Linked DNA regions of Homo sapiens: regions 1, 2 and 4 are each linked to region 3. Evidence: promoter capture Hi-C in 16 types of primary human blood cells and fetal thymus (Javierre and others, 2016). All regions are on one chromosome and are shown on one strand. The core of a region is centred on a gene start or on the middle of the fragment in contact, and the rest is flanking DNA. Distances in the headings are between cores, read along the strand shown.

Region 1 (6,565 bases), core at 3,980-6,479, 200 kb before region 3:
CATTTACGAAGCTGAGGAACTCTGAGCCTATTTGCAATCTAGGAAAATGGTCCTGGTTATTATTGTGATTTTTTTTGGTATGATTGTATCCTATTTCAGTTTTAAAAAATAGTTGTTTTAAAATGAATGATGGTACATGACATTCATCTAATGTAGTCATTACAAATTAAGTATATAGTTTTTAATGACATGGGAACATGTTTATGTTGTGATATATACAAAACATTTGGAGATACTTATATATACACATGCATTCTCAACTATGTAAAAATAGATATATAGGCAATGCATTGGAATGAAATGTACCAAAATGTTAACCATGATAATTTATGTCATAAGGTTTTAAATGGCTCTTATTTTATACGTTAAAAAATTTCTATAGTATGTGTTAATTTTATAACTAGAATAAAAGAGAAAATTTCTTAGGCAATCAGTCATCCCCTATCCAGTTGAGACCAAGTTGATTATTTGCACTTAGCTAAGTGACAGCTAAGTTATGGCTCATATATTTGTACCTCTCCTCATGAATCACCAAGATGTCATTTGGTGACTGTGATTTTCACATACTGCTCTTGCCATTATCATCAAATGACACTTTACCCACCACCTTGTGCTCATGGATCTGTGCAGGATTAGAGCTGGGGTTATTTAAAAAGCTAAATCACTTACTTATATGTGTTTAGAATCAATACTATAAACATATTTCCATGACTTATATTATAACTTTTATTACAGGGTAGATATGTTAGAAGGTATTTTTACTTAGGACAATTATGAACCTTTTCTTTTTTGGATAGTCCCAAATTCACATAATCATATCTATTTTCAGTTACATGCATAGCTAGTTATGGGTGGAATTTTTACTTTTTGCAAGACTTTTTTTTTTTTTTTTGAGACGTAGTCTCACTCTGTCGCCAAGAGTGCAATGACGCAAACTTGGCTCACTGAAACCTCATCGTCCTGGGTTCAAGCAATTCTCCTGCCTCAGCCTCCTGAGTAGCTGGGATTACAGGTGTGCACCACCATGCCTTTCTAAATTTTTTTGTATTTTTAGTAGAGACAGGGTTTCACCATATTGGCCAGGGTCTTTAATTCCTGACCTCAAGTGATCCGGCCGCCTTGGCCTCCCAAAGTGCTGGGATTACAGGCGTGAGCCACTGCACCTGGCCATTTGCAAAACTTTTAATATGACAAAAATTACAAAGCAGTATAATCCTGGTGTAGGGTAGGTTGAGTTCCAAAGGTACACGTGGAATAGTAACTACCAGGCAGGAAAAATATTTTTGTGTTTCAATTATGTTTAATGAATGTTGAATTAAAGTTTAACAACTCTTTTTACTGCAGGACTTGTGGGAGCTTTGGATGCTATTATATACTTGGATCTTCCAGTGGGGAGTTGGTGTTAAGCATGTTTCAAAGATATTTGAGTAGAGCATCCTCTTTTCGCTGAGCCTCTCGGGAATCATGTTCTCTGGGCAGTTAAGAAATGCATCACTTAGCAATGCACCCCTTTGGTTCTTTACATGGATGGAGGCAGGAAAGACCCAAAGAGTTCTACTCTTAATCATGCTCCCTGGCCAAGGAAAAAGTGATGCTGTTAATATTTTTTCTCTCAAGTTGATGTTTAATTAAAAAGGCATGGTCAAAGTTACTAAAATGACAACTTTGATCTGATCAGTAAGGAAAACTCACCTCCCATAGTGTCCTCTCCAAATACATTTAACTGGTCATCACCCTGTTAAAAAAATCACAATATTAGATAATAATAACAGCAGGTATTTTGCTGAACTCCTTGGCAACACTGGCCTACTTGAACTTCCTAACAACTGTAAGAGGGAGGCACCTCCAAACAATTTTATGAGGGACAATATTTTACAGACAAAGACACTGAGAATTCTAAAAGTTAACTTTCCAAAGGTGACAGGGTAGTGAGGGACAGAGCTCAGAATTAAACCTGGGTCATCTGTCCCAAGTACATGCTCTCTTCTTAACCAGTACAGTATCTCACCTCTTTTTTTTTTTTTTTTTTTTTTTTTTTTTTTTTTTTTTTTTTTTTTTTAAAGTGCAAAAACTATCTGTGGACAGGAAGGCTGACTTCAAGAAGACAAAATCCTTTGGTATCAGAAGCTTAGTGGTAGGTGTGATCACAGCGGTTTTATGAGTAACTCCAAATTTTAAAGCTGGGGTTGGAAACAGTTTTCTGTAAAGGGCCAGATAGTAACTATTTTCATCATTGTGAGCAACATGTCCCCTGTAGCAACTACCATTTTTTTTTTTTTTTGAGACATAGTCTCGCCCTGTTGCCCAGGCTGGAGCGCAGTGGTGCAGTCTCGGCTCACTGCAACCTCCACCTCCCGGGTTCAAACAACTTGGGCCTCAGCCTCCCCAGTACCTGGCAATACAGGCATGTACCACCGTGCTGCGCTAATTTTTGTATTTTTAGTAGAGACAGAGTTTCACCATGTTGGCCAGGCTGGTCTCAAACTCCTGACCTCAAGTGATCTGCCTACCTCGGCCTTTCAAAGTGCTGGGATTACAGACATGAGCCACCGTGCCCGGCCCCTACAGGGCAACTATTTAGCCATAATTTGCCAATCCCCGAACCAAAGCATGAAATAAAGGAAGTAGGGGTGATCAGTTTTTATTGATTCCTACCTTAAAGTTTTCATTAAAAAATAATTTAATCAAACAGATGCTCTATTCCTTATGGAGTAGCCCATGGTGGTTGGAAAAAAATTCAGAAAAACATTTTATAAAAAGGCACTAGGTGAGAACTCTCACTCTCACCTATGTCTTCACCTGTATCATTTCTCCACTCTGTCACCCCTCATAGGTAACCACTTATACAGATTTTTCTTGAGGCAAACAAAAATGACTTCTAGATATCCAGGGATACATGTGAACATAAATAGATATTATGATCTCCACTTCTTATACAAAAGCATTATACTTTTATTATACATGCATATGTGTTTACGATATAATACTATTCTATAATACATTGCTCCTCCACTTGCTTTTTCTCTGATCAATGTATCCTGGAGAAATTTCCATATAAGTACAGAATGTTCTCAGTACCAAATATCATCAGTTGCACAGCATTCTATTGTATATGTGGTACCATAATTGTTGTTGTTTAATTAGTCCTTTATTGATGGATCAGTGAGTAGTTTCCAGTCTCAAACTTTTTTTGGAAAAAGTGGCACAGTGAGTAAATTGGCATAAATATCATTTCATACTGCAGGCTAAATTTCGAGAGAGGGGACTGCATGGTCAAAGAGTAAATGTATTTATAATTTTGATCGAATTTTGCCAAACTGCTCCCCACAGAGGTTGTACCATTTTGAAGGGACAGCCTCTGGCTTGTGCTTTATGCTGGCCTCTTGCCTCTAATTCACTTTGATGCCTGAGTCAGTTAAATGAGGTTGTCTGGTTGTATTAACACTCCCTTGAGGTAAACCGCCCTCAAAACACTTTATTTAAAGACAGATTCTTGCTGTCCTGTTTAGAATATATGCCTTCAGGGAAATTTTACTGCTCATCTTCTTAGAGTTGCCTGTGCATTCAGTGCTATTCCAGGTAAGAGAAGAGCTATTAACAGAGTGGTCATTCAGGGACACATTTACATTAATGAATTCTCTTCTGTGAATAGAAAAAACATCAATTATTCCTCAACAAGCCTCTCCACCACTTCCCTTGTTGAAATTACCGCAATTCAGAGCTTGGAGTTTAGGGATCACCTAATCCAATCCTGCCACCCACTCTTCCATTTTACAGATGAGGAAACTGATGTTCAGAGAGGTCATGCGAAGGGCCCATGGCCATGCCGTCATGTCCTTAGTGACGTCAGGATGGGATGAGAACCACTTCTTTTACCACTTTGCATGGCTGCTATGCATTTGGTCTCATCAGTGTAGGGGCATCCCCTCTCCTCTGCTCACCTGGCCAGGCACCCAGCCACCGAACTGCTGCTAAGGGCCCACTACAGTCTGGCTCCCTGCCTCAAGCTGGGATGAATCCATGGTGCAAGCTGAGCCCCAGAGCTCACCATGGTCTCAGGCTGAAGTTAGGATGGAGCCAGGACCACATCTTTGCTTAGCTCTTACCCCTGCCCTATCCTGCTTCTCCTCAGAGGGCTCCCTAATAATGCACTTGCATGAGAATTCTTGTCTCAGGCTCTGCTTCTAGGGGAAAAATATCAATTACTGCTCAAGACAGGGACCTTGAGGAGTTCCCAAATTCTCAGGGAATTTTGGATTTAAGACAGGGACCTATTTGAAGCAATTAATAAGTTTGCCTAAGGTGCAGCTGCATAGAACAGGCTCAAGAGTATTTCCTGGAAAAGGATTGTTTAATCTAAATCTTCTTATTGTTTGTCAAACAGCTATTGAATCTATCTAGGTAATGTTGAGAGGAAACCATGGAGTCCTCTCCCTCAATTTTTAATATTATTGTTAGATTATCAGACTTATACCCACCTTATAGGCTAGGCTGTATTAGATCTTTCTTCTACATGGCTATCATGTTTGGGGAGTCTGATCGTGGTTAATGTGAATTCCTGAAACAGTGCATCCCACTGTAAAAGGGCCCATCTGACCTCTGCCAGGCTTCCTGAGTCTGACCTATTTGTATCCACAGCTATTATTCACAGCCTTCTATTACACTTGCTCAAATGTTTCACATGAGCCCCAGCTTTATTTTCATTAATTCATCAATAGTGAACAGGCTGCTGGGACATAGATGCAACTGTCATCAACTCTCACCAGGAATGCGGTGCACTGACATGAAAGCCCAGGTGAATGAGATGTTTGATTGGAGGGTGTAACCAGGGACTCTCAATAAACCTCATGGTTCCAATGTGAATATTTTGTAAACAAAATTAATCTGGCATCTTACACACACACACACACACACACACACACACACACACACTCGGGGTGAATGGGAAACACTTCTGGTTTTGGTGAAAAAGATACCAAACAGCCCCTGTAAGCACTAAATCTTGTTACTTTTCAAATGTTGGGTGTGTTCTGCATGAAAGGCATTAATTTCAGAATGTCACTTGGACAAGGAACCAAAGGCTGTAGGCTTATTCAGGAGACGTCTGATCAGGTGTTTATGCTCAGTCGCCTTGGAGCTTCCTCTTCAATGAGGCATCACTTGAGAAGACTCAACCCATTAGCCACCACTCTGAGTGTCTGTGGGTGCCTCTTTGTGTTCTGGCCTTTTTCTGTGTTGAGGCTCCATCTAGTCCACCCTTTGTCACCTTAAGTCTGAATTATGGAGTTAGGCTTTGTGTGCACAACGGGACATAGGTGACTTTCCATAGTATTAAACTAGGTTTTGAGGTACATGAAGTGGGATACTAAATCTTCTGAACTGACAAAGAGAGAGAGAGAGAGTATAAATATAGTCACACATTTGATTTAAGTGACCTTTAAGACTCACATGTATGGGGCGCCAAGGCACAGCCTGCAATGCTGTGATTAATACTGTTAAGGTGGGAGAAGCTGCAGCAAACCCACTAACACCAAAAGACAATTTCAGGCCGGGTACGGTGGCTCACGCCTGTAATCCCAGCACTTTGGGAGGCCAAGGCAGACGGATCACCTGAAGTTGGGAGTTTGAGACCAGTCTGATCAACATGGAGAAACTCCGTCTCTACTAAAAATACAAAAATTAGCCGGGCATAGTGGCGCATGCCTGTAATCCTAGGTACTCAGGAAGTTTAGGCAGGAGACTCCCTTGAAACCTGGGAGGCGGAGGTTGCAGTGAGCTGAGATCATGCCACTGCACTCCAGCCTGGGCAACAAGAGCGAAATTCCGCCTCAAAAAAAAAAAAAAAAAAAAAAAAAGACAATTTCAGGTTGCTACCTCATTTTGATGCTATAGATTGGGTAATATGTTGGTAATTGATGAGGAGAAATCTAGAATTCTATTGAAGGGACACATTTAAAATTTCAAAGTGGGATTACTGGCTATGGAAAACTGCAGATTTGGATTAGAGACTTGCTTTGGTCTCTATCCCTCATCTTCCAGTCAATCAAGACCCATTAGGAGGGCAAAAGGAACCCACATTCAACCTTATTTCCCTGTGTAGGTGTATATGCAAAAAAAAAAAAAACTACTTTTGCAAGGCTGGGTTCTGGTACTATCATTTGTATGAAGAGTGGCTAATTGGGGTATATATGTGCTTTCCTTTAGGATCAGGGTGCCTATCATCACCACCTTAAGATATTCATGTCTAGTCATTTCCATTTCCTTGAATTATTGAATTTTAAATGAGGGAGATCAAAATAGAACAACTTAGTCTCACAGATGGGTTCACCAATTTTAAGAAACTATCTTCTTCAACTGGGTTTGATTACAGCATAGTGACTGCTCCTGGTGACAGAACCAATTTCTGTGGCATTGCCACAGTAGATTGTGTTAGTTTGTTTTCATACAGCTGATAAAGACATACCTGAGATTGGGCAATTTCCAAAGGAAAGAGGTTTAATGGAGAACTCATGGTCCCACGTGGCTGAAGAACCCTCACAATTATGGCGGAAGAGAAGGAGGAGCA
Region 2 (6,362 bases), core at 1,723-4,222, 170 kb before region 3:
CAAGCAGAAGGTAGTAGAAAATTTAGGTAGAAAATGAGAGAAAATTTAGGTAGAGAAGGAGAGAATCAATTCTGAAAGCCTTATATCCAATTCTAAAAAGCAAGAACAGAAAGAGCAGAGGGTAGAAAATGAGCAAAGAATAAAAACCAACTGTAAAATGTCCCAAGCCCGAGGGACCTGCGTCTCCACATTGAGAGATCACACCAGGTGTGCAGCCCAGTGAATGAAAGAAGATCTGCACCAAGGTACATCAGTGGGATACTTCAGAACACCAGGAACACAGACAGGATCTTTAAAACTTCCAGGAATGTGAGGAGAGAGGAGGGCACAGGTCACAAGGATAGGGGACTGAAAATCAGAACAACGCCTGACCACAATATGGCAAGGCAGAAGACAGTGGCTCAAAATGTTGGAGGAAAACTGATTTGCGAACACAAGGATTAAAAACCCAGGCAAACTGTCAGAAAATTATGAGGAAAGAATAAAGCCATTTGCAATGGAAGACTTTTAGAAAATGTACCTCCCATTGACTTTTTTTTTTTTTTTAAGGAAACTACTACAGGATGTGCTCCAGAAAAGTGAAGTGATGCATAGAGAGGAAGACAACAGACCCCAGATACTAGAATGAGGCTCAACCAGGCCCACACAGAGGAGTTAATTGGTTTTCAGAAAAGGCTGCATGGGGCAGGTGAGAAGAGCAGGCTTTAGGCTTCAGTGATGCCCTGCACGTCACTCCTTCCCCATTCTGCATGGTTCTTTGGAACTAGGGTGACCAACCATCCCATTTTCTCAGGATGAAGAGGTTTCCTAAGATGGGGCATTTTACCAGGTAAGCTGGGACAGCTGGTCTCCATACTTGGAACTGAGGCCCATCCTCGTTCTTTTAAGTCTGTGCCTTCGAAGGTGCTGTTCTTGCTCCCTGGCACATGCTCTCTGCCCAGTCATTTCTTACTCTCCCCCTGAGCCCCAGCCCAAGCTTGGAGATGGAGAAATGTATCCAGGTCAAGATGGCTCTCTTCTCTAGCAAGGTGTAACACCAGAACAGGCTGTTAACCTTCGGAGACATCTGTATTCAGGCAGATGCCAAGTGAAACCTCTCCATGCTGAGGTGAGAGCTGCAGTCAGGTTGGGGTTTACTCCCAGTTTCCTGGGAGATCAGAAACTAGTGTCCTTAAGCAGGTGGAAAAACAAAGATAAAATCTGCCACAGGGCTCAATCAGCTGAGGAAACAACTGCGGTAGTAGAGTCTTATCATTACAGTTCTCTAAATTCTATGAAACCTCACTCTTAGTATTGAGGAATTACTTGCTGTTTTAGGGGCTTCCACTGTTCATTTTCTCCAAACAGACATTGCCTTAGAGTGGACAAAGTCCGAGCTGAATAACTGCATGGAAACTGCACAATCCTAGGCACTTCAGGTACTCTTCTCTGATTTTATGGGTTACTTTCATGAATTAGCACATTTCCTTCACATTTAAATGAATTTTAAAAATCATACTTTCTTACATTTTGGAGACCACCACTCCTGGTGCTTTTGATCTGCTCTATTCTGGAAGACTTGATCCCTTTCAGCTGTCAGCCTTCCTAGCTAGTTACAGTGGGTCTCATGCCAGACACACATTACAATCACCTGGGGAGATTTCAAAACCTAACTTTGCTCAGCCTTCATTCTCAGAATCTCTGGGGGTGGGGCGTGAACGTGGGGAGGTTTTACAGCTCACCCGGTGATTCTAATGTGCAGCTAGGGTAATGACTATTGGGTACAGAGCAGTAGTTTTTGCCTTCATCTGTTTGGGCTGCTATAATAAAACATCATAGACTAGGTGAGTTACAAGCAATGGAAATTTATAGCTCACCGTTCTGGATGCTGGGAAGTAGAAGTTCAAGGCTCTGGCAGATTCAGTGTCTGGTGAGGGCCTGTTTTTTTGTTCATAGATGATGCCTTCTGGCTGTGCCCTCACTATTAAATCTCAAAACTTATATTGAGGAATTACTTGCTGTTTTAGGGGCTTCCCCTCTTCATTTTCTCCAGCAAACATTGCCTGCCATGGTGGAATTCCTTCTCATGGTGGGATGGGCAAGGCAGCTTGCTGGGGCAAGCTGGGGCCTCTTTTATAAGGCACTCATGTCTTCATGATGGCTCTGCCCTCACGACCTAATCACCTCCCAAAGGCCTTACTTCCCAACACGGTCATATTGGTGATTAGGTTTCAACAGGTGAATTGTGGGGGAAAACAATCATTCAGATTACAGCAGTTTTGAAGTCAGGGAGATTTGGTTCAATTCCTGCGTTAGCGATATACTAGATGTTTTTGGCCAAGTAATTTCACACTCAGAGTCTCAGTTTTCTCATCTATGAAACGGGCTTACTAATGCCCGCTAGATAGGGCTCTGGTATGGATAAAGAAGTATGTGAAACACTCAGTTTAATACTTGACCCAAATTGAGTGCTCAGCAAAAGTGAGCTGTTAATCATCATTGCTTGGATAGTGGAAAAAGCTTCTTATCATAGAGCAAAAAAGGAAAGGCAACATGATTAACTATCTTGCTCAACATCTTTGTCCAGAGAGAAGATGACACTTGAAGTTTTAACTCTTGATAAGGATTGTAATTTATGAACTAAACTCCACAAAAGAAAAAAAAAAACTTGAGAGAGAACATATCCATTTAAATGGCAACTTAGACCCACTCAAGAAAATGTGTAAGACTAATGTCATCAAATTATTTGTGTGCGAGATGAAATCAGTTAAAACTTTTCCATTGTGAAGAGCTGCGGGTATAAGTGTTATATATTCAACTTGACTTTGCCTGATAATGATTTGTTTTGGTGATAAACATTAATTTCCTATTTTGGTAAATCTATTAATTCTCTTTGGAAAGTATAAATTAAACAAAATAGCTATGGTCTGGTCTACAGAATTTAAATATATTTTGTTAGAATGCAATCATTTTCAGAGTAAATAAAGCAGATGAAAATACAAATAATTAAAATATCTAGAAATAAAGCTAGCTAGATATGTGATGAGAAAGTAACCATATCTTTTTCTTTTCCTGCTGTTGGTTCATGAAAGAGAGAGAGAGAGAATGGCTAGGCTCTGGGCTCCTGGGGTGGATGGAGTAATACTGACCAAGATGGCATACAATTAGGAGTAGGATTTGAGGGGAGTGGAATGAGCCAACACTGTCTATCCCAGCCAGGAGAGTGAGAATATTCCAGAGTAAAGAGGGGTTGGTAGTTTATAAATGGAGAAGACCTGAACCCTATTCCCTTGCTGACAGTCCTGGGTTTGGCAGATATCTAGCTGGGGTCTCAACTGTCCTGTGGTCCATCCGGTCACAGCAGCATGGATGCCGTAGTAGAGCAGCCTACTTTTGGGTGGATCACACAGGCTTGAACAATAAGCATCTCATGTTGACCCTACAGAGCTGAAGACTAGAAGCTTCTTCCTCAAACTTTTTGGACCAGGTGAGTCTTTCCAGACCCTATTAAGACCCTGGAGAAGAGGAAAAAGGGGCTCCCCGTACAATGACTGAGAATGAAAGTTCCTTTACCAATAAGAATAGGGCTATGGAATGAAACTGATTCAGAAAAATACAGAAAGTTTACATGGAGGAAATTAGTCCTTTCCTAACTACTTATACCGTTGTTGCTAATAATAAAGTCGAAGATACATAAACCCATTAAAAGATTGGCTGACCAACTGGCCTCATCTTCTTTGTGAGGAAGCTGATGCCCAGAGGGCTGAGCTGATTTCCCAACTTCCCATTCACCTAGAGATTTGGAAGAGGAAGAAATATAGTAGAGGCAAGAGTCAGTCCCTTCTCACTTTCTCCCCTGCTGTTTATTATAGAAAAACTCTTACACAATGGAGCAAAAAAACAGTATCAGGACATTCACTGCAACAAATTTACAATATTAGAAATCGGAAACAACCTAGATGCCCATGATTGGAACAGATAAATAAATAGTCTTCTAATCTTACATTGGAATACTATACTGCAGTGAAATGAATGGAGCCAAGTTACATTATCAGCATAGATTGAACAAACAAATTAAGTTGCAGAAGGATATATACAATATGAAACACTTTATAAGGGGTTAAAATATGAAAAAATCCTGACATTATTACAAATACATTATTTATTCAACAGTCAATAAATACTTTTTGAAAACCTGCCATGTGCCATGTGTTGCTCTAGGTGCTGGTGATGTATCAGTGAACAGAGAAAAGTACTTGCTTTCTGGGAACTCACATTCTACAGATATACCTACACATGCAGCAGAAATAGAAAGACAAATATGGGATTGACAAACACTGAATTCAGAACGGGGACATCTCTGGGGACAGGCCAGAGGAATGTGACTAAAGAGGGGATGCACAGAGGTTTTCAGTTATTTGCAATGTTTTATTTCTTAAGCTTGGCAGTGGATAAATGATGTTTGTTATATCATTCTCTATAGCTTTTAGTCTGTATGAAATATTTTATACAATCTATTTAATTTTGCTTCCTAGTTTAGTGTCCACAAATTTCTTTTCTTTTTAATAAAAACACATTTGCCTCCACAGATAAAATGAGATCAAATGAAACATAGGAAGATAAATGGATATGTTCTGGACTCTGGCTGTAGGTATTTAAGAAAGCATGTGTGCTTGGAAATTACAAGAACTCTTGGATGTTTTGAATAATATTGTTGTTTCTAGAAGCTCATGGAAGCACTAGCAGACAGCCAGGCCCAGTGAAACTTGTTTGTTCTATCTATGCTTGGCTGAATGAAGGACTGAATGTGGAGTGAACTTGTTCCATGGAAAAGCATGAGAGGCTCTAATGCATGTTGTTGTGGCACCGTTTAATCTAGCCTGGCCGCATAGGTGACTGGCATTTTGGAGAACTACCTTATTGATCAACAGACTGCAGATATTTTAGCATTTAATATACTCTGCATCATGAGTCATGTGGGACTAAATTGGATCCAATCTGACAGCTCTTACTCCAAACATTTAAATAAACAGCCTTATCTAAAAATCTTCCTTTTTGGAGTCCTTTGCCCAATCAATAATCCTTGATTTATTATTAAAGTATATCTGATAAGAAAGAAGGAGAATATTGCAATGCTATCCTTTTTTCTTCATAATTCCACAGGCATTTATTGAAAATTAAAGATATGCCAGTCATGAACAAGTGTTGATACAGAAGTATGTCGATTCATTAAAATTAAGTAAGACATACATATATAGAACAACATAGCTCATTTTGAAAATACATACAAACAAAAAGATACATATAATTGCATTATAATGGATGCTTGTGCAGGAGAGAAAAATGGAAGATGATTACGGGGATATAAAAAAGAATAAATTAAAAAGTAATATATCAAAGGGGGAAAATACGAAGTGGATTTTCACAGAAATAATGGCAATTTTCCCTGAACCGAAAGATATGTTTAACTTGGGCCTCTGCACCTGAGAAAAGTACATAAATAAAGAAATAAAACATAGTCCTTGTCCTCAAGGAACTCACAATCTGGCGGGCAGACATAGGTAGAAACATGTGATTGTTCCACATGATTAATTCAGTAAGCACAGACTGCTTCAAATGGGTACCTTACAGATTTCAGGTCCCTGGGGTAGGAGGGTCTTGTCAGGAGAGATTTCTCTGGACAGGCACCAGTTAACCAGGTGAAATGGTGCAAAGGCAATCGCCGACAGAATATAGAATATACAAAAGCATGGTTGAGAGGAAGAGAATGATTTGGAAAACTGCAAGTACAACCCTGAGAGACTGACGTTACTGTCATGTTTATTCATTCAAGATTATTTATTAAGCAGCTCCTATGTACCCAAGTACTTACATGTGCAAATTGAGATTCAGAGGGTTTGAAAATGCTATCCGTTATACGCTTTGGTCCTTATTTACTCCTAGAGTAATATTCAGAGATTTAGGAAAAGTTTATGTGCCATGATGTGCCAGGGCAGCATTATTTATAACAGTGAAAAGATGAAAGGAAAAACAGGCGTTCTGCAATAAGGGAATGATGAAAATAAATATGGTGTTCCTATAGAATTATATTTTATAGTGCCATTAAAATGTGTTTACAAAAATTATTTGATGACATGGGAAATTCTATATTATTAAATGCAAAATCTGATTATAACATTATTAAATGTCTATCAATCAAGGAAATGCTTCATAATGTCAATGTTAATTTTCTTCTTTATACTTTTTGTATTTTTTTTCAAATTTTCCATAGCATGTAGTTTTGCTTTTATGTCTTTATGTATTTATTTTTTTTTCGAGACAGGGTCTCTCTGTTGCCTAGGCTGTAGTGCAGTGGTAGAATCATGGCTCACTGCAGCCTCAAC
Region 3 (6,680 bases), core at 971-3,470:
TTGAGCTGCGCATAGCACAGATTCGTCTTACTGAAGGATGTAGCCTTTGAGGTCACCAGCAGTCTACTTCCATCTTCTCATTGTCCACAAGTGAATCTAAGTCCATTACTGTATTTCACCCAAGCAAGTTGACTTCCTTTTCTGGGTGTGCATTATTTATCCCATTCATATGCAGAAAAGTAAATAAGAAACATAAAACCTTAACAAAAAGGCCTGCCATAACTTATTTGCATGCACAGTGTAGATTTTAATAAACTATCAAACTTCTCTGTGGTTACCTTCCACCAAGGAGGAAAAACAGTACCCACATTTACAAAGAAAAAAAGATGTACTATGTAGGAATTTTTGCAATCACGTGGTCCTCCTACAGATGTTTTTAATGATTCTTTTAGAAGCGTAGAAATGAAATATATCTCAGTAGTAATCTTTGTGAGAAAAACCTTCGCCTCTTAATTTCCATATTTACTTTTTGAAAATAAAAACAAACAAAAAAAACAACTCTTAAGATTCCCACATATTCTCAAGACCTGTCCTTATGCAACACCACCTAATTATTTTCACGCAGGAGTAACACATTTGCTAGATTTGGGCTTCACATACCACGCTTGAGTTCAGTGAGTGGTTTACCTGGAAATCTTGACTTCAGATGACCTGAAAACGGTGGCTTATAGAGGTGAGAGAAAAGAAGACCTGTAATTATGGCAACCCATTTTAAAGATAGTTTAGGGAAACTGAGGCAAAATTATTTTCTCAAGTGGTGCTTTAAAATTCCTTTTAACAGAACAAATCCCCCAAACCGGGGGGAAAAACCCTCATGACCTTTAGTTTACGATATCAGTCTATCCGTTTTCAGAAATGGGGAACGAGGTTTGCAGTGAATGGATTTCTCCTTTCAGAGCTCGCTTAGGAAGCCTGGCTTGCTTCTATTCTTTTCTCCTCCTCCCCCCTACTTCAAGCAAAAGCACTTGAGATTCAGGAATGTTTTTAAATTCAAATACAAAGAGAAGGAAAGGAAGCCAAACGACCTGAGACAGGGGTTGTGGCTTAGAACAGACCAAGGTTCATTCCTCGAGCCTCCTCTCTCTCAGTCTCCAAGTGTCCCCCCATTCCCGGGTCCCGGTGCAGATGATGCTGTGCTGCGGTCTGAAGACTGAGCAACAGGAGTCCGCCCCCCTCGCAGCTCCCTCCCCGACCCGCTATCTCCAGGTGGGTTGTCGAGCACTGGCGAAACCTGCGGCCCAACCCTTCCTAGGCAACGGGAAAAACGTGCTCAGGAGTTCATTCAGCGAAAGCGCAGAGCAAGGCTGGGGGCCTGTCACCGGGGAGGTGGCACTTGATAGGTTGGGTTTTGCTTTTTGCATCTTCATCCCTCTCTTCCAAGCTGTCTCCAGGAAGGGCTGCCTTCGTCCACATTTCCTCTTTCCCCCAGGGGTTCCGACCCTCGACCAGCAGAGTGACTAGGGCTCTGGCTCCCTCAGTTTCGAGTCTTTACTCGCTGCTGGGCGACAGTGCAGCCACCTGACCTGGCCCTCGCCCCCAGAGAGTGCGGCCCGGCCGCGGTCTGCAGCCCACCCTGGGTGTCCACATCCGAGGGGCGCGATGGGAGCAGGCTGCTTTCAGAACCCTGCTGGAAGACTGAAACTTGATCTGTGAGATGCAGGCTTCTAAGCCCAGCCTTCTGACAAGGACCCTGGCAACCCGCGGGAAAGGCGACTACCCTCGGGGGAGCGGGCGAGTGCGCTTCTACAAGCCCCTTCATTACATGCCCCGTGTGGGGAAGGTGGGACGGGGCGCGGCTGCCTCAACCCGAACCCCTGAGATGCAGTCCCCGGATGCTACCGCCCGTCGGCCAGCTCTAGCCCTACCTCAAAAAGCTGAGGGATTTCCCTCCGGGCCAGATACTCCTTGGCATCGTTGGTGTTCATGGCTGTGCCGCGCGTGCCTTGGGGCGCAAGCGGGGAGGCTCCCGGGCTGCGGCGACCTGAGCCGGGGCTGAAGCTGGGGCTGGCAGAGTCCGCGCCGAGCAGCGGTGCAGCCCTCTTTCTCACGCGCACTCAGCTCAGCCTCTCCGCCCAGGCCAGGGACCCCCTCCGCCTCTCCCCGGGGGCTGTGGTCTCCGCGCTCCCGCCGCCCCCGCTTCGGTTCCAGCCCCCGAGCCGGAGCTGCAGGCGCCGAGCAGCTGTGCCGCGGCTTCCCGGGCTGCCAGGCAGCGCGGCCGCCAGGGGTGGGGCGCAGGGAGCGGAGGAGGGAGGACAGCGTGGCGAACGCAAGGCAGCAGCCGGCCCGCCTCTCCGGTTCAGCGCGCCGCGCTCCGCGCCTCCCCGAGCCGGGTCTGCGGCGGCTGCCGGTCACGCTGCGCGGGCTGGCGCGAGGTGCGGAGGTGGGGGCGGGCACGCGCAAGGGGTCGTAGTCATACCCCTCGGTGCGGCACCGGCGCCAGAGCGCGACGCTTCACTGCGTGCGCCGCCCAGGGATGCAGCTACCGGGGACCAGGTGGCCAAGGGAACAGGGTCGGGGTCTGTAGGAACCTGCGACCGTTTCGCTTCTCCGGACCTTGTACGCACACAGACACACTCGCACGCACATACACGGTTACCTCCGGGTCTCCGAGGAACTCCCAGGAAAAACCTAATAGTCACAGGATTTATCATTTATTCCTAAGGTTACGGATCTTTCACTATAGGGAGCTGTGGGGAAGGGGGAAAAGGGGATTCATGGTGTGGAATCCAACCCTTCAGATAATTTTTAGATCTTGAGTATCTCTATCCTTCAGGAAAGTTTTGCTAGCTGGTTTCGAATTTTTACCCTGTCGGTGTCACAAATCTTTATAGACTTTAGGATAAGGCCTTAGTGTGAGCCTGAAATCCTAATCAACTGAAGGACTAATAAGTAGTCAACTAGTTAATTATCTCCATGGAGAAGAAGGGACAGTGGAGGAGAAAGGTGGGTGGTAGTGGAGAGCTAGAGATGCTTAAATTGCAAATGTGTTTAGTAGGTGGGGAGGGTGGGCATCATTAATTAGACCTGAAGAGTGTGCAGTCCGTGGACAGTGTCGTATCAGAGCACCCCTGGGGGAATATGAGTGAGTATGAGTGGGTGCGCTAAGGCATAATGGTTAATGGATCTTCCTGCTGCAGACCATTGTTAAGGTGTAACCCATCTTCCTCCTAGCTCCCAAGATGACTCAATTCCCTGCTAAGATGTCTTCACATTGCCTATTTGGGAGATAGTCCTTGCCCCCGGAGAATATGATCTCTAACTTCCCACAAAGCCTAACACTGTAGGAGGGTGTGTGAGAGAGGACACTTTGGTAGGCACTGGTATCTGGGGTCTGGCTGGAGAAAGAAGCAACGCTGCCACTGCTTTAAAAAACTATAGAGTCTGAATGTCCATTTCAAGTGCTTCTTTGCAGATCTTTTCTTGGTTCTATTTCTTGTTCCGGAAACAACTGCAGCTCAAGCCTTAACTACAGCTGCAGCTTTGTTTTACCTGAGGGAGTAAATGAACTTTTAGCACTTGTGAACCCGTGTGTCATATGGTTGCCTTAAACGAGGCAGGTATTTCAGTTCCATGGAAATTGGTTTTTGCCCTTAGAATATGCCATTTCACTTACAGTCCCAACTTCTAGTATTTCTTTAGCTTATTTAAGATTGGCTATGGCAGTAGTGAAGGCAGTGTCTCTTCCCTATGCAATGATGCTTGAAAAGTACAATGGTCCGTGGCATTAAGGCTTCCTTTGTGAGCAGGCACAGTGGAGGTGAACACGCAGGAATGAAAAGGCCAGTTTCTCCAGGACTTTTCAAGGTCATCCTTTGCAGACAAGAATCTGGCAGAGCATGGCTCACCTGTCTTCCCTTGAAGAAATGCATAATTCTAAGTGTACTTTAGTGTTACCGGACAAGTGTTGGCAACTTGCTTGTAAAAAGAGAATGGATAAGAAAGACTGCACTGCACTAAAAATTGTAGATAGCCTGAAAAATGTAGTAAATGGTGATACGGCAAGTTTTCAAGTAGCCTTATGCAGAGACAATTAGTGTATTTTGGTGTGTGCCAGGGTGGAGAGAGATGCGTGAAAGAGGAAGATGTTCATAATTACTTTTGCAAAGGAAGTTGTGGCTTTGTAGGGAGGGGCTACATGAGAGAGATATAATGCTTAAAAGCCAAGCTAATGGTTCAAAAGAGAGGAAAGAGAAAGGACAAGGAACACTAAATACATCCTTGCTGTGGGAAAGCTGGCCTCTCATTCCCTGTGATGAAATTCTATGTGTGGGTATATAGAAGGCTCATGGCCCTTGGCCCTTTGTTTATTTGGGAATGCTTTCCTGCAAGCTATAATGAATCAAAATGGTTACTGCATGTCGGATGTCTTCGGATAGACTCTCTTGTCATCACGTCTTGAGAGAGGGTGCTAGGTTCTGAGATATAGCAGTGAATAACAGACATGATCCTTGCTGTCAAGGAACTTAAATTCTATGAAGAGTGTGTGTAAGAAGTGCAGATGAACAATAAGCAAATAAAAATGCATAGACAACATCACATAGTGATTAAAAAATACAAAGAAGGACATAAACAAGAACATATCAGTTAGTGATAACTGATGACGAAAATCAGAGTTGTTGATTTGAAACAAGGGGGCAGAGGCTCCAGGTCTGTTCTGTGGAAGCAGCTGAGGAAATGGGAGTAAGAATAACCATTAGGGGCCGGGCACGGTGGCTCACGCCTGTAATCTCAGCACTTTGGGAGGCCGAGGAGGGAGGATCACGAGGTCAGGAGATCAAGACCATTCTGGCTAACACGGTGAAAACCCGTCTCTACTAAAAATACAAAAAATTAGCCGGGAGTGGTAGCGAGCACCTGTAGTCCCAGCTACTCGGGAGGCTGAGGCAGGAGAATGGCGTGAACCCGGGAGGCGGAGCTTGCAGTGAGCCGAGATGGCGCCACTGCACTCCAGCCTGTGCGACAGAGCAAGACTCCGCTCCAAAAAAAAAAAAAAAAAAAAAAAAAGAAAAGAAAAAGGAATAACCATTGGGATGATGACTAGGACTTCCAAAGGGCTAGGCATCCTTCAGACTCTTGGTGGGAATGTTTCCCTGAGTCATGATAGGTACAGATGAATGGAGGAATAAAATATCTATAGCTGTATCTATAGAATGCTTAGGACTCAGCCAAAGAAATTTAGAAAGGTACCCTAGCAGGAAAAAGTAAACTTTCTATTTTAAAAAACAAATATGTTGAAGTCTTTAAAAATTACACCATGATGGCTTGAAAGAGTAAATGCCATATATAGAGATTCCTGATTTACCATGTAGGAGTATGTTTAGGTGCTGAGAAAATCTAGCTCAAGCAATGTCTTCGTAATGTCTAGAAATATAATGGTGTATAAATACATGATTTACGAGTCACAATGAAAATAGTGTTTTATGATAATTCATTCAGTCAACAGATATTTCTTGTGCATCTCCTGTGTGCCAGGCATCGCTGGCACTGCTGTGCTGTCAGGCGCGTAGGTGAATAAAACACATGCATGGAGCATTTATCTAGGAGCAGGAGATAATTTGCAACAGATATAATAAACAAGTATATGAAATTGTTGTTAGATGGTGATAAATACCATGGGAAAAGGAAAAGTAGAGGAGGGTAAGGAGAACTAGAAGGCTGGCTTCAGTTTTATACAGAGTGGTCAGGGAAGGCCTCATTGAGAAGGTGAAATTCCAGCAAAGGTTTGAGAAAGTGAGAGAGCAACCACTTCAAATGTCCTAGCAAGGGCAGATTCCTGGCACTTTCTGGCAACAGCAAGGAGGCTAGTGTAGCAGGAACAGGGTGAGGAAGGAGAAGAACAGAGAGGAATGGGGCCAAAGCACTTGGGACCTTGTAAACCATTGTCAGTTCTTCTCTAATGGGAAGTTAGAGAAACGTTTCAAGCCAAGACTAATATGATCTGACTTACATTTTAAAAGGCTTCTCTGTCTGCTGGTTTAGGTATATGTAAGAGAGAAAAGGTAGGAGTGGGGAGAACACTTGGAAGGCTATTGTGACTCAGGTGTGAGGTGACGAAGGCATGGACTCAAATATTGGCAGCAGAGACAATGAGAACTGGTTAAATCCTAGATATATTTTGAAGATAGAACAAATAGGGTTTCTTGACAGCTTGGATGTAGTATATGAGAGAAAAAGAAATCCTCAAGTATGACTTCATGGTTTTTGGCCTGAGGATAGTGTGGAGACAATTAATTGGCCTCAAGAGGCTTACTAACTTACAAAATTATTTAATAGTTAGATGGTAAAGAACTCTATGCAACCCAGAGAAGCAACAGGACAACTGGCTCTGAAGGGAGTCTGGCAGATGGTAGGTTCTCCCTACTGCTTACTGACCGTATTTCTTCATTTTCATCTGCAACCCTTGGCTTATAGCAGCCATTTGAGCTCTAAAGGTAACCTACATGTTAGGTTGACTCACACATTGTACAACCTCTGTGCAAGTGGAAGAGGGGAATTTACACTTGCTTCAGGATATGCTTTCAACTTAAATGTTTTAGAACTTCAATGTCCATTCTGCACGAATATTTTACCTGCCCATGCGAAATCTGTAATTCCATCAAATCTAGTCTTCATCCATCAACCAGTAATCCTAACTTGGCTATGATAGATATAAATAAGGGAGCAACTTGAACTCCAAAGAC
Region 4 (6,870 bases), core at 2,127-4,626, 240 kb before region 3:
TGCATTTGATTTTTAGCGATGTCATATGCAGTGTCCAAGGAAATCCTCAAAGGACCTTGTATCTCGGAGAACTCAGCTACAGGTATGCAAAAGTGTCAGCCTAACTAACTGAATTTTTAAAGGAACTGATGGTCCAATGCATCGGACGCATCAATCTCGGTGACACAGAAAGGCTGGTGAGATTTTTGTGGGCTGGTTAAAACCTCTCCAGGCTTGAATGGACCTCAAACATAGTTGCAGGCCTGATGCACTAGGGGAAATACTATGCTTTCAACCAAGCTGATTACTTTGAATCTCTGGGGAAAATCAGATGTCTGCATTTGTCTTTGTCAAATTTCAAATGAATTTCTTGCTTGTAATTTGGAGGGGAGCTACAAATGAAGGGCCCTGCAGGGCATTAAGGAGTCAACAGTAGCTCATTCTGTGTTTGTAGCATCTTTGTTCATCTGGTCAGGTTTTATTATTATTATTATTATTTGAGATGGAGTTTCACTCTGTTGCCCAGGCTGGAATGCAGTGGTGCGATCTTGGCTCACTGCAACCTCTGCCTCCTGGGTTCAAGCGATTCTCCTGCCTCAGCCTCCCAAGTAGCTGGGATTACAGGCATGTGCCACCACGTCCCGCTAATTTTGTATTTTTAGTAGAGACGGGGTTTCGCCATGTTAGTCTGGCTTGTCTCAAACTCCTGACCTCAGGTGATCTGCCCGCCTCGGCCTCCCAAAGTGCTGGGATTACAGGCGTGAGCCACCGTGCCCGGCCATCTGGTCAGGTTTAAAGCAGGAGCTCATTCTGGAGGGCTGGATGTGTTCTCTTGCACACCTGCTTAATTGATACTAGAATCTTCTAAAGTTACTGTACCCAGGGACAAATCAATGTCACTCTTGGTCTCTGTAAGTTCCTCCTAGCAGTATGTAAGAAATCATCTTTGTAGATGTCTAAAATCTCACTTAACGGTTGTATGCTCAGTAATGAAATGTGTTACCTGTGTGTTGTTTGAAATGGAATCATGAATTTTAGCATTGAGTGTAACTGTCCAGTCACCATGTTGATGACTTTCTTGTTCCTTAGTTCTAGTTAGGCTTCTTCTCTGCCACATTCTAAAACCGGTCTGAACGGGGACCACAGTGGGAGAGGAAGTTTTTTGCTTTACTTTAGGGAAGATCACATGGACCATTTGAATTCATACTTACGCCAGAGGACAGACCAATGGGCTGCATAGAGCTCTGAGCTCACCCTAACTGGGTTTTAAGCAAAGGAGGAAGTGGTGATGGAGCAGGAATTTTAGAGGCTTGTATGAGGTGTGATTAACAAATGAGTGATGCTAAACTAGATAATATTTTATAAACTTTTATAGCTTAGAAGACATTTATGCATGTTATATGATCTGATGTTTACAAAACCTTTTAAATAGGTGTTAACAGGTATTATTATCTCCATAATAAATGACAGGTGAAAACCTAGATTTTCTGACTCCAGAGTACACGAGTGACATGCTTTTAATGATTCCACCTTGGGAAGGTCCAGGGTTGTCATTGCTCAAAATGATGTGGAACCCCATAGGCGTTAAGTTCTGGGGTTTGCCTTCAGACTCAATTTTAAAATTCCCCAAAGAAGAATAAGGATTATAATTTAATTTTGTTGTTGTTGACCGAGAGAGAGAGAGAGACCTTATTTATTTACTATACATCTTGTCCTCGATCATTTGAGGGTTTCAAGAGAATGTTCTACCACCTCTCAGAGCAATTAAAAAAAAAAAAAGACTTGGCCAGGCGAGGTGGCTCAAGCCTGTAATCCCAGCACTTTGGGAGGCTGAGAGGGCAGATCACGAGGTCAGGAGATCAAGACCATCCTGGCTAACACGGTGAAACCCCATCTCTACTAAAAATACAAAAAATTAGCCAGGTGTGGTGGCGGGCGCCTGTAGTCCCAGCTACTTGGGAGGCTGAGGCAGGAGAATGGCGTGAACCCGGGAGGCAGAGCTTGCAGTGAGCCAAGATCGCACCACGGCACTCCAGCCTGGGCGACAGAGCGAGACTCCGTCTCAAAAAAAAAAAAAAAAAAAAAAAAAAAAGACTTTTATTCCCATCGCTTCCAAACATGCGCAGGACCTGTCCTGACTTTCCTGGAGGGTCTCTCAGAGCTCTTCTAACCTTAAGTTCAAGGGCAAGGTAAGTGGGAAAAGCCTGAAACACTGTTGACCCTGCAGCAGTTATTACACATCTACAATTGTATGTTAGTGTCATGTTTACACAACTGCCAATCCTCATAGACAGGAAGCTTCTCAACGTTTGTACCACACCTTCCTCTTCCTTTCCCCTCCAACCCCCCAGCCCTGCACAGGCCTTGATTCTAAGGTGGTGTAAGAAAAATACTCCTGTTCCTCAGTTACTTAGAATGTATCCCTAGGGACTTATCCACAGCCTAGACGTTGGCTAGAAGATTAGAATAAACAAAATCTAAAACAATCCATGGAAGGCTTAATATTGCTAAGATGTCGATATTACCCAAAGTGATCTACAGATTTAATGTAATCCCTATCAAAATCCTAATTTTTTTTTCCAGGAATAGAAACATCATTTTAAAACCATATAGAATCTCAAGAGGCCCTCAATTGCCAAAACAATCACCAAAAAGAACAACAAAGCTGGAGGTCTCACACTTCCTGATTTCAAAACTTATTACTAAGCTACAGTAATCAAAAGAATGTGGTACAGGCATAAAGACAGATATATAGACCAATAGAATAGACAGTCCAAAAATAAACTCTCACATATATATGGTCAAATGATTTTTCATGAGGATGCTAGTATGGTTTGGAATTTGTTCCCTCCAAATCCCATGTTGAAATGTGACCGCCAGTGTTGGAAGTGGGGCCAGTTGGAGGTGTTTGGGTCATGGGGGCAGATTGCTCATGAACAGCTTGGTGCTATCCTCGTGGTAATGACTGAGTTCTCATTCTCTAAGTTCATGGAAGATGTGATTATAGAAAAGCGTCAGGGGCCTCTGCCATCTCTCTCTCAACATGTGATGCACTGGCTTCTCCCTCACCTTCCGCTGTGAGTGGAAGCTTCCTGAGGCCTCACCAGAAGCAGATGTCAATGCCATGCTTCCTGTACAGGCTGCAGAACCATGAGCCAAAATAACCTCTTTTCTTTATAAATTACCCAGCCTCAGGTATTCCTCATAGCAATGCGAACGGACTAACATAAATGTCAAGATCATTCTGTAGGAGAAAATATTCTTCCAACAAATGGCATTGGGAAAACTAGATATCCGTATGCAAAATAATCTGACACCATATATAAAAAATTAGCTGAAAATGGATCAAGGCTGGGCATGGTAGCTCACGCCTGTAATCCCAGCACTTTGGGAGGCCAAGGCAGGCGGGTCACATGAGGCCAGGAGTTCAACACAAGCCTGGGCAACATGGTGAAACTCCGTCTCTACTAAAAGTACAAAAAAATTAGCCAGGCGTGGTGGCATGTGCCTGTAGTCCCAGCTACTTGGGAGGCTGAGGCACGAGAATTGCTTGAACCTGGTAGGTAGAGGTTGCAGTGAGCCAAGATTCACCACTGTACTCCAGCCTGGGCGACAGACTGAAACTCCATCACAAACAAACAAAGAAACAAACAAACAAACTGGATCAAAATACCTAAATATATAAGCGCTAAAACTACAAAGCTTTTAGAAGAAAATACGGAGGGAAGGCTTCATGGGGATTAGGTAATAACTTCTTGTACAGGACAAAAAGCACAGGCAACAGAAGTAAAAATAGATAAATTGGACTACACCAAAATGAAAAGCTTTTGTGCATCAAAGGACACAACCAAAAGAGTGAAAAGACAGCCTATCAAATGAAAGAAAATATCTGTAAGTCATATATCTGATAAGGAGTTACTATCCAAAATATATAAAGAACTCCTACAACTAGACAACAACAAAAAGAAAACAACTTCATTTAAAGCACATGAAAAGATGCTCAATGTCACTAATCATTAGAGAACTGCAAATCAAAACCACAATAAGATACCACCTCACACCCATTAGGATGGCCACTATCAAAAAAACCCATAAAATAACAAGTGTTGGTGAGAAGAAATTGAAATTCTCACGCATTGTCGGTAGGAATGTAAAGTGGTGTGGCCACTATGGCTGGCAGTATGTATGTATATGTGTAGTATGGTGGCTCCTCAAAAAATTAAAAATAGAATTACCATATGATCTAGCAATTCCACTTGTGGGTATATACCCAAAAGAACTAATGCAGGAACTTGAACAGATATTGTACACATGTAGTCATGGCAACATTATTCACAATAGCCAGAAAGTGAAAGCAACCCCAGTCTCTATCGATAGGTGAATGAATAAAAATAATGTGGCATATACATACAATGGAATGTTATTTGACCCAGAAAAGGAAGGAAATTCTGACACATGCTACAACATTAATGAACCTTGTGGACATTTTGTTAAGTGAAATAAGAGGTACCTAGAATAGTGAAATTCACAGAGATAGGAAGAAAAATGGTGGTTGTCAGGAGCTGGGGAAAGGAGGGAGAGGGTAGAGTTTCAGGCAGGTGCGGTGGCTCACACCTGTAATCCCAGCACTTTGGGAGGCTGAGGTGAGAGGATCACCTGACCCCAGGAGTTCAAGTCCAGCCCTTGTAACAGAGTGAGATCCCCATCTCTACAAAAAATCAAAAAGTTTAGCTGGGTGTGGTGGTGCAGTCCCAGTTGCTCAGGAGGCTGAGGTGAGAGGATTGCTTGGGCCTTGAGGTTGAGGATGCAGTGAGCTATGAATGCACCACTGCACTCCAGCCAGGGCAACAGGGCAAAACCTTGTCTCCAAAAATAAAAATAAATAAAATAAATAGTAGGTAGAGTTTCAGTTTAGCAGATAAAAAGAGTTCTCAAGATGGTGGTGATGGTTTCATAACAATATGAATGTACTTAACATCCTTGAACTGTACACTTAAAAATGGTTAAGATGACAAATTTTGTTATGTCTATTTTACCACAATTATTTAAAAAGTAGAACAACGCTCCCAATTCCATCTTGTAAAAAACTAGTTAATTTATATTGAGGTTTGTGCTCTTGAAGTGATTTTTTTCATGGGAAAAAGCTCATTAGAACTTGGGCATGTGAGTGTCCCCCATCAAGAACTGCCTAAAACTTCCACAGTAATGGGGCTCTGCTCTGCAAATCCACTTCTCCCTGCCCACCCCCATCTTGCTGATGGAAGCTCTGGAGTCGAGGGACAGCCAGAATGGGTCCAGGGTCCACCCATGCCAACTAGACCTAGACATGTTTTCTTTGACTCTGGTTTCATGTAGGAAGTGTAGGGGAAGATGAGCAATTGACCTTGAAGTATTTTGACACTAAGGAAATTAAATGAAACAGGCTCAGAAGGAGGTCAAAGTAAACCCCCAGAGACACACAAGTATAATTCACCTCAATCAATGTTACTAGAAGTGGATGGCGATGGGTCCCGCAAAATCTTAGTCCTGCTAGCAGTTGGCACTTACCAGTAAGTTGTCACCAGCTGTGTGGCCATGGGGAAGTCATTAACCCTTTCTGGGCTTCACTCATCACCTTTAACATGAGGACAATACTTCCCCTATCTATCTAAAAAGGTTATTAAAAAAAAACGAGAAAACTGTATATGAAAAATGTTTCAAAACTAGTCTGAAGAGATATCTCTATAAATATGAATTTCTTTTAAGTTCTCAAGTCAGTATTTGTTTAACAATGAGGCCAGTTTTACCCTTCTTGCCTGGACTTGTAAGATTACAGGTACTCTCTATAAAGTGTGGGCACAGGATCTGGCCCAGAGTGGGTTCAATACGTGGCAGCCACAATGGTTTTTACTTACTGCTGCTCCCCTGTGAGTATCCCTGACCCACCCTCCTCACTAGGAGAGGGTGGGCAGGGAGGTGGGATGGTGGGAGGATAGTGGGAGGGTGGTGTGTAGTTCTGATTCTGCCTGTCCAGCACCCATTCCCCCGTCTTCTTGTAAGGGCAGCCCTACTTTTCCTGGGGGTAATTTTCCTTCCCTGTGTGGTTCAGGTGTGGTGCCCTTGCTCCCTCCTCCCTTCCCATCCTTCCTTGGTCCTCCAGGCTGGGCCAGCCAGCGTATTCCCTCTTCTTCCCTCTCGGCCTCAGTAATTGGTTCAGTGATGATGGGACTGTGACCAAATCCAGGATAGGAAACACAACTCTGGGTCTTTTGCTGGACCCACTGGGAAACAGAAACACTTTTCTATGAAGCCACTTAGATGGTAGAAGGTAAGCCTTGATCAGGAAGAAAATGAGACCAACACAAAGGAAAGAGAATTAGAGAGAGAGAGAGAGAGTCAGACAATTGATGAACACATTTGGATATCTGGAGTCAACCAAATCTAAACCACTGCTGGGTGTTTTAGTTACTTAAGTCAATAAATCTCCTTTTTTTAAATTTCTAGTTTGAGTCAAGTTTCTGCCCCTTAAAGTTTTCATTAATGTAATTGGGAAAGAAATAGACTTTGAATTATCACCCAACCTCAAGGATGTCCCCTATTTTTCTTCTGGAAGGATGCCCGTAACAACCACTCACCCTGCGTCCGAACTCTTCCCCTTGCTTCACCTCCCGAGGATAGCCGTCAATCAGGAAGCCCCTGGTGTCCCCGAGGCTGGCCACCATGGCCTCCTTCAGGAGCTCCAAAACGATGCCCTGGAGCAAAGCGAGAGTGGTCAGGACCTGAGCTCTTTCACAGAACACTAGAAGTACCCCAAGTCTCCTTCAGTCATCCACTGAGGGAGGGAGGAAGGTTCAGGTAAGGTTAACAGCAGACAGCAATTGACCATATTTCATTTCACTCTTCCACCTCCAC

The links. Contacts are between HindIII fragments. The CHiCAGO score rates a contact against its expected background, and 5 or more counts as called.
Region 1: a fragment that was not itself captured here is called in contact with the fragment with the promoter of AK5 in region 3 in 1 of 17 cell types (monocytes); the score reaches 5.2 in monocytes.
Region 2: a fragment that was not itself captured here is called in contact with the fragment with the promoter of AK5 in region 3 in 1 of 17 cell types (non-activated CD4 T cells); the score reaches 5.3 in non-activated CD4 T cells.
Region 4: a contact is called between a fragment that was not itself captured here and the fragment with the promoter of AK5 in region 3, in 1 of 17 cell types (monocytes). The highest score is 5.9, in monocytes.

Annotation. Positions count from the first base shown.
Region 1 is chr1:77,478,487-77,485,051 of GRCh38, reverse strand. AK5 (adenylate kinase 5) reads right to left here. Exons shown (of 14, transcript NM_174858.3): 9 at 1,693-1,735. Among named protein-coding and RNA genes, the nearest start is that of AK5, 200 kb to the right of the region's middle. The HindIII fragment of the contact is 6,200 bases long and covers 2,130-6,565 here.
Region 2 is chr1:77,451,106-77,457,467 of GRCh38, reverse strand. All of the region lies in intron 8 of AK5 (adenylate kinase 5), which reads right to left. Among named protein-coding and RNA genes, the nearest start is that of AK5, 170 kb to the right of the region's middle. The HindIII fragment of the contact is 941 bases long and covers 2,502-3,442 here.
Region 3 is chr1:77,277,559-77,284,238 of GRCh38, reverse strand. AK5 (adenylate kinase 5) reads right to left here and starts at 2,220. Exons shown (of 14, transcript NM_174858.3): 1 at 1,866-2,220. The coding sequence starts at 1,925. RefSeq lists a silencer at 2,301-2,360. The HindIII fragment of the contact is 11,909 bases long and covers 1-6,680 here.
Region 4 is chr1:77,521,667-77,528,536 of GRCh38, reverse strand. AK5 (adenylate kinase 5) reads right to left here. Exons shown (of 14, transcript NM_174858.3): 12 at 6,594-6,710. Among named protein-coding and RNA genes, the nearest start is that of ZZZ3, 160 kb to the left of the region's middle. The HindIII fragment of the contact is 614 bases long and covers 3,070-3,683 here.